Linked DNA regions of Homo sapiens: region 1 is linked to region 2. The links are contacts of gene promoters, found by promoter capture Hi-C in human tissues and cell types (Jung and others, 2019). All regions are on one chromosome and are shown on one strand. Each heading gives the region's core, a stretch centred on a gene start or on the middle of the fragment in contact. The rest is flanking DNA. Distances are from core to core; before and after follow the strand shown. Region 1 overlaps RAB5C (RAB5C, member RAS oncogene family). Region 2 holds the start of FKBP10 (FKBP prolyl isomerase 10).

Region 1 (3,348 bases), core at 176-2,675, 320 kb before region 2:
GGAGGCAGGACAGCTCAGTGAATGCATTCACCTTTACTACCTGCCATGTCTTCAGTTTCCCAGGCTTGGGAGGAGAGGGTATAATGCTTCCTGGGGCTCTCGGTCTGGCCTTCCCCTGGCTTAGACACCCTCATATCTCCGTGCGCCCTTCCTAGCAAAATTGGCTTCCTTGGGCTTTATTGACTGCAAAGGTTGGACACCACTGCTCATTTGATCACCAAGCAGGGCCAGGCAAACCACTAGGCAACAGACCGTAAAAAGTGCTGGGTGTGCCTGCTCAGGTATCTCTGGAAGGCAGGATCAGTGACCAGGCAGAACATGTCACCAGCTAGTTCATGCCAGGGAGAGCCTGTCTCAGTTCATTGGGATGGCCAGAGTCTGTTCACCAACAGTCTTGGAGAAAGTGTTACAAATAACCCTGTCAGTACTCTTAGCTACTGTTTACTCAACATGATGTGTGTGAGACAGCTGGCAAACACTGCCATTAACCCTGGTGTGCCCCATATTAGTGATGAGAACACTGAGGCTCAGCTCAGGTGGCTTCTACAAAGTGATTCAGAAGTGGCAGGAGACAGTCACATCTGTGGTGCCGAAAGCCAGTGCCTGTGCTCACTCTCTCTCTGCCAGATGCTCTAGCCCTGGCTGTGCTTCAGTGGGTGTGCTTCACCTGCAGATGCTGGGCTCTGTGCCAAACCTTCATGAGAATCTCGAGGGGCTGGCTGCACAGATGACTTCAATGTACAGACACCGTTGAGAACCACTGCAGGAGAGTTATTTGTCTCCCCTTCTGGCTTGTTTTTAAAAATCACATTCTGTTCCTCTAACCCTGTGGTTTGGTAGTGACAAGACTTAGATCTGTTACCTGTATTTTTCTCGACCTGTAGGTGCTGGTTACTTCCCAGCTCGGTACCCTAAGCACCAGCTGCTTTGGTTTTTTTGGAATCAGAGACTTGGTTTTCTATTACCATCTCCCAGTCCATTCATACCTCCTCCTCCAGTGCCCCAGCCACAGACCATTGCTCAGCCAAGACTCTGTGTCACGTGGATTCATGGTAATAACCAACTTGTAATTCCACTGTGGTTTTCCCTCTGTTGCTGTCGCCCTGCCTGGCTCTGGGCGGCTCCTCCCACTGTTGAGGGCACTCAGAAACTGCAAGATTACTGTGACTGTTGCTAGAGCCAGCTAGAGCTAGACCTTCCTGGACCAGCAAAGTTGCTGCCACAAAAAAAGAGAGTTTCATTCACCTAGCAGCCCTAAACCAAACATAGGGCAGGCACTGCCTCCATTGTTCTTCCACAGCAGGGAGGATGGCATCATGTCTATGGTGGGTCTGGGGGGTTCTGTCACCTGTAGGCTGGGTGACCATGAGCAGGACATTTAATATATGAATGTTAAATTATCTATCTGAAAAATGGAGGTTGTCGTAAAGCTTGAAGGAGATAATAGTTGTGCAATTGGGAAGCTGAGGCGGGAGGGTTGCTTGAGGCCAGGAGTTGGAGACCAGCCTGGGCAACACAGTGAGACTCCATCTCTGCAAAAAAAAAAGAAAGAAAGAAAGAAAGAAAATTTTAATTAGCTGGGTGTGGTGGTGTATACCTGCTGGAGGCTGAGGCAGTAGGATCTTGGAAGCTGCAGTGAGCTGTGATCACACCGCTGCACTCTAGCCTGGGCAACACAGTGAGACCTTGTTTCTTTAAAAAAAAAAATTATTTCCTTCCATCAGCACTCTTTGAGTTCCTAGTATGCACATAGGCACTGTGAGGAAGGCATCTCTAAGAAGCAGAAAGCACAGACCTTGTCTCTTCATTGACTGAGGTGAAATGAGAAAGCGTCTTAAACTATGAAAAATTGAAATGACATAACTTTGAAATATTTACATGGTATTTCTGGTTGCTAATTGAGACCCACCACCCCGTACTTCCTTCCTTGTACTTTTGGGGAAGAGGTGGGCCCCATTTCAAACCTCTTTTCCTTTGGTTCTCTCCAGAAAGGAAACTGTTGTTTCTGGCTAGTGAATCATTCTTCCTGAAGCTCACTTTTTAAATGAGTTGCTGGGAGAACTTGGATGTGGAAAACGATTTGAGGTTGAACAAAACAAGCCCTTTGCTGTCAGCTTCTTGCATGAATGTGGACCATTTGCTTCCCACAGATACCTCCTGTTCATCCACATTGCTGTCCCTTAACCATGAGGGAATGTACTTCCCTTGCTCAGGGGCAGATCGGGGCTCTCCCTGGGATCTTAGACTCCATTATGCAAAGGGCAGCCTAATAAAAACCTTTTCTTTCCAACCCAGGTTCAAATGCTGAACAGTGTTCAGTACTTAATACCTACTCACAGGACCTGTTTGTAAAACATTCTGTATATATTCTGATGTCTGTTGACATCAGATGTATATGTCTGATGAGACATCCACTTATGTCTTCTAGAGGCTTCTAGAGATAGGCTCCTCATGTGTCTGCAATTCCAAAACTTAACAAAAACAAAAAGTTGAGCCTCTGAAGCTGTCACTAACCAAGTGATTCAGATGTCGGGACTGGAACACCAGCTGTTGGGGATGCAGGACTTGGTCTCTGCCCTCCCACACCTCCTGCCTCTTCTTTCTCTCCATCGCCCCATCTCTGCCAGTAGAGAATGGAACTGAGGTCTCTATTGAAAAAGGGAAAGTTGGTAGCTGTGCTGACTGTGGCAGAGCTATGACTTTGGTGTGTGTTTCTGTGTGTGTTTGTTTCGGTGTGTGTTTTGTTTTGGTGTCTGTTTTGGTGTGTATTTCTGTGTGTGTGTTGGCATGTGTTTTTGTGTGTGTGTGTGTGTGTTTCAGTGTGTATTTGTTCCGGTGTGTGTGTTTCTGTGTGTGTTTGTGTGTGTGTATCGGTGTGTGTTTTACTATGTGTTTGTTTCTGTGTGTGTTTTGTTTTTTAATGGGTGCGAGACTTTGGCCCATCAAAAATGAGAGAACTAGGGAAGAAGGATCAGGATGAGAGAGTGAAACATTGCTTTGATTCTGGTGCACAGAGGCACACAGTCCAGCCCTAGACTGAAAGTCGGTCAGTCCTTCTGAAGGTGGCAGGAGAAAAATGGCTATGTTAATAACAACTTGTGCTGGCCAGGCCCTGGTCCCTGAATGGCCATGAGGTTGGCCAAGCACCTTCTCTGAGGAGCTTTCTACCAGGACCTCTTGGGCCCCTGTCTGCCTCACCACTGTGGTCCTGGCTACCAGACTGGAACTTCATTATTGATCTAAATCCTAGTGTCTTCCTGAGCTTTTGTTTTGTTTTGTTTTGTTTTAATTTTGCCCCAAAAGCCTGTTGACTTAACTGTCACCAGGCTGTCACACATTCATTCATCG
Region 2 (3,235 bases), core at 136-2,635:
GCCTTAGCAAGTAGGTCCTGTTTTTGTCTCCACTTTTCAGATAAGGAAAGTGATGCCTAAAGAGACAAAATTCTCTGTCCATGGTCATAGCCTGGATTTGAACCAGGGTCTTGGGACTCTTGGAGTTTGTAGGCTTACCCCAATATATGCCTGCCTCTAAAGTCATGGCCACTAATTTCCTGTGGGCTGAGTTGTGTGTTTCAGAGGAGGGTCTAAGAAACACTGACTTCTTTCAGTGTGCTGTGGGGTCTGTGTGTAACTGGGACCCTAGATTTACCCCTGAGGCTGGCATACAGCCCTGCCCTGTCCCCGCTAACAAAAGTGGACTTGCTGGGGCAGACCAAAGGCCTGGGTCAGACCAGGAGGCCACCTTACAAACCCCAAGGCTGGCAAAAATGGGCGGCCTGTGCCTCTGGCCTGGTGTACCTAAAATGGAGAGAGATGAGGGTTCCAGGAGAACCAGAGAGGGAGGAATGAAATTCCTCCAAGGAGCCCAGGGTGGCATGTCCGACTGTGTGACACGTAGACAGGGCCTCCGCAGGGAGCCACGCGCTACCCCCAGGTCCAGCCGGCTGTCTTCTTATAATACCCACCAGCCTTTTTCCCTGCCCACCAGCCGCTGAAAACTCCCACCCCCTCCAAAAAAAAGTTCTATTCCCTCTTCTCTGACCACAAAGGCACTGAAAACAGTGGAACCAGAAGGGGAGTCAGGGTGGGTGGAAAGGTACGGGGTCCAGGCTGATAGACCATCCCAGGGTTCTTAAGCAGCAGGGACCACCCCCTTCCCCCCAACACTGTAGATCAGAACACCCCTCTCCATCAGGTCATTACATACAGCCCTGGTAACTACACAAGGCAGTTCACCTTGATTATCGAGTCCTTTCCGGGATGTGGAGAGCTTGTGAGAAAGAAATGGGATCCTTTGAGAAGTGAGGGTTTGGAAGTGGGGGCAGGAGGGTATCTTTGGGGAGATGGGTGTCTGGGAGGCCCCAGGGGTGCTGTCTAGGGTTAGAGTATTGGGATGCAGAGCTTAAAAGAGGCAACAAGGAAACAGGACCCCGGGTTCAGGGGACGGAGTGGTGAATCCGGGGGCGCCCAACCGGGGTTACCTTGAATCAAACTTCTTGCCATCTTCAAAAGTGCCGTTGTAGTGGTAGCGCACAAAATCCCCCATCTGCACTTCCCGGGGACAGGCCCTGGGGATGTGGTACCTCTCGATGACCACATCTTCCAGGGGGCCCCCGGCCGGGCTGGCGCGGCCCAGCCCCCTCCCCACGGCCTGCACCACCAGTAGCAGCAACTGCAGCAGGGGGAGCCGGAGGAGGCTGTGGCTGGGGGGGCCCGCGGGGAACATGGTGCCTGGAGTTGGGACCGCCGGCAGTGAGGGCGAGCGAGGGAGTCGCCACCAACCTCCTTCCCCCCGCCTCCCAGAACTGGCTCCCCCTCTTCCTGTCCTCTTTCCCTACCCCCGCCCTGGCTGGTCCACGTGGAATGGGGGCTGGGAAGACTGAGCTGGCCTGGCCGGGAGGAGCGGGGGAGGGGGTTGCAATAGGAGGAGGGGGCCAGGCTGAGTGTGTTAGAGTCTGAGGGAGGCACTACAAAGAACTCTAGGTTCCCCCTCCCCCCATCTCCATCCCTGGCTGCGAGACCTGGGGCCTGGCCAGGGAGAGAGGCTCGGGAAAGATGAGAACTCTGAGTGGACACCAAAGGAAAAAAAAAAAAAAAAGTTCAATGACTTTTTCCGGAGCCCCCGGGTCCTAAAGCCGGGCGGAGATGAACCTTGCTTCTTTCGCGGGCACTTCGAATTCTAGTCCCCTCCAGGTGGGTGGTGAAGCCGCGGAGTGTGAGAGGCATCTCCGTGCTCATCCGTGACCCCAGCTGTACTCCAAGGGAAGGCATCTCCAGGGAAGAGCAGCTTGGTCCCGCAAAAGCTGGACTGAAAGAAGGACTTTGTGACTTGGGATGTGACGGGCACGGAGATGGAGTGGGGGGTGGTGGCAGCGCAAGGTGTGCAGGTGACAGCAGGTGTGTGCCTCCGACGTGGGCGGGGGAGACACTCGGAGGGTGCAGGAGGGCGCAGCGACGGAAGGCCCGGCTCCAGGGCTTCCTTCTCGTATGGGCAGCGCAGAGGAGGCGGCCCTCACTCAGTGTCCTGATCTCAGGCGGGGGCACTGTTTGCATGGGGAGGGGCTTCCTGGGCTTCCCATCTCTGGCGGGAAGCGCTCCCCGACGCATTCTCTACCTAGGGGACACCCCCAAGGCAGGAGCCCGGGCCGACGGAGAGGACTTAACGACACTATCGGACCCTCTGGGAAAAGAGGGGAGACGTCGTGACCCAGGCCCCGCCCCACCTTGCCGCCTCGTGCCCGGCGCTAAGACCCAGCGGGCGCGCCGCCCGCCCGGGGCCCGGCCCTGTCCCCTTCCGTCCGCGGGGCAGCCAGCTCAGCTCCGGAGAGCCGGCGGCGCGGCGGGCATGGCTCGGGTGGCGTGGGGGCTGCTGTGGTTGCTGCTGGGCAGCGCCGGGGCGCAGTACGAGAAGTACAGCTTCCGGGGCTTCCCGCCCGAGGACCTGATGCCGCTGGCCGCGGCGTACGGGCACGCTCTGGAGCAGTACGAGGGAGAGAGCTGGCGCGAGAGCGCGCGCTACCTGGAGGCGGCGCTGCGGCTGCACCGGCTCCTGCGCGACAGCGAGGCCTTCTGCCACGCCAACTGCAGCGGCCCCGCGCCCGCGGCCAAGCCCGATCCCGACGGCGGCCGCGCAGACGAGTGGGCCTGCGAGCTGCGGCTCTTCGGCCGCGTCCTGGAGCGAGCCGCCTGCCTGCGGCGCTGCAAGCGGACGCTGCCCGCCTTCCAGGTGCCCTACCCGCCGCGGCAGCTGCTGCGTGACTTCCAGAGCCGCCTGCCCTACCAGTACCTGCACTACGCGCTGTTCAAGGTGGGAGCCCGCCCCCACCCGGGGACCTGTCTCGGGCTGGGCGTCGTGGCTCCCCACAGATCGGTCGAAGGAGCGTTATCTTCACCCAAGGCACGAAGCCCGCCGTGCGCTCGGGGCCGCGAGCTCCGGTCTTGCTGACCCGCTCCCCCACCCCCTACCCCCCGACCAGGCTAACCGGCTGGAGAAGGCGGTGGCGGCGGCCTACACCTTCCTCCAGAGGAACCCGAAGCACGAGCTGACCGCCAAGTATCTCAACTACTATCAGGGGATGCTGGACGTCGCCGACGAGTCCCTCACGGA

What was found. The method cuts DNA at HindIII sites, captures the fragments that hold promoters and counts their contacts. A contact is called where the count stands out against the background at its distance.
Region 1: a contact is called between a fragment that was not itself captured here and the fragment with the promoter of FKBP10 in region 2, in 1 of the 25 tissues and cell types used here (pancreas).

What each region holds. Positions count from the first base shown.
Region 1 is chr17:42,130,903-42,134,250 of GRCh38, reverse strand. The region is part of intron 1 of RAB5C (RAB5C, member RAS oncogene family); the gene reads left to right. Among named protein-coding and RNA genes, the nearest start is that of HSPB9, 9.8 kb to the right of the region's middle. RefSeq lists enhancers at 329-378, 949-998. The HindIII fragment of the contact is 4,681 bases long and covers 1-3,348 here.
Region 2 is chr17:41,811,154-41,814,388 of GRCh38, reverse strand. FKBP10 (FKBP prolyl isomerase 10) reads right to left here and starts at 1,385. Exons shown (of 10, transcript NM_021939.4): 1 at 1,110-1,385. The coding sequence starts at 1,354. It overlaps P3H4 (prolyl 3-hydroxylase family member 4 (inactive)), which reads left to right and starts at 2,440. Exons shown (of 8, transcript NM_006455.3): 1 at 2,440-2,935; 2 at 3,105-3,235. The coding sequence starts at 2,474. RefSeq lists an enhancer at 2,071-2,180 and a silencer at 2,321-2,810. The HindIII fragment of the contact is 16,914 bases long and covers 1-3,235 here.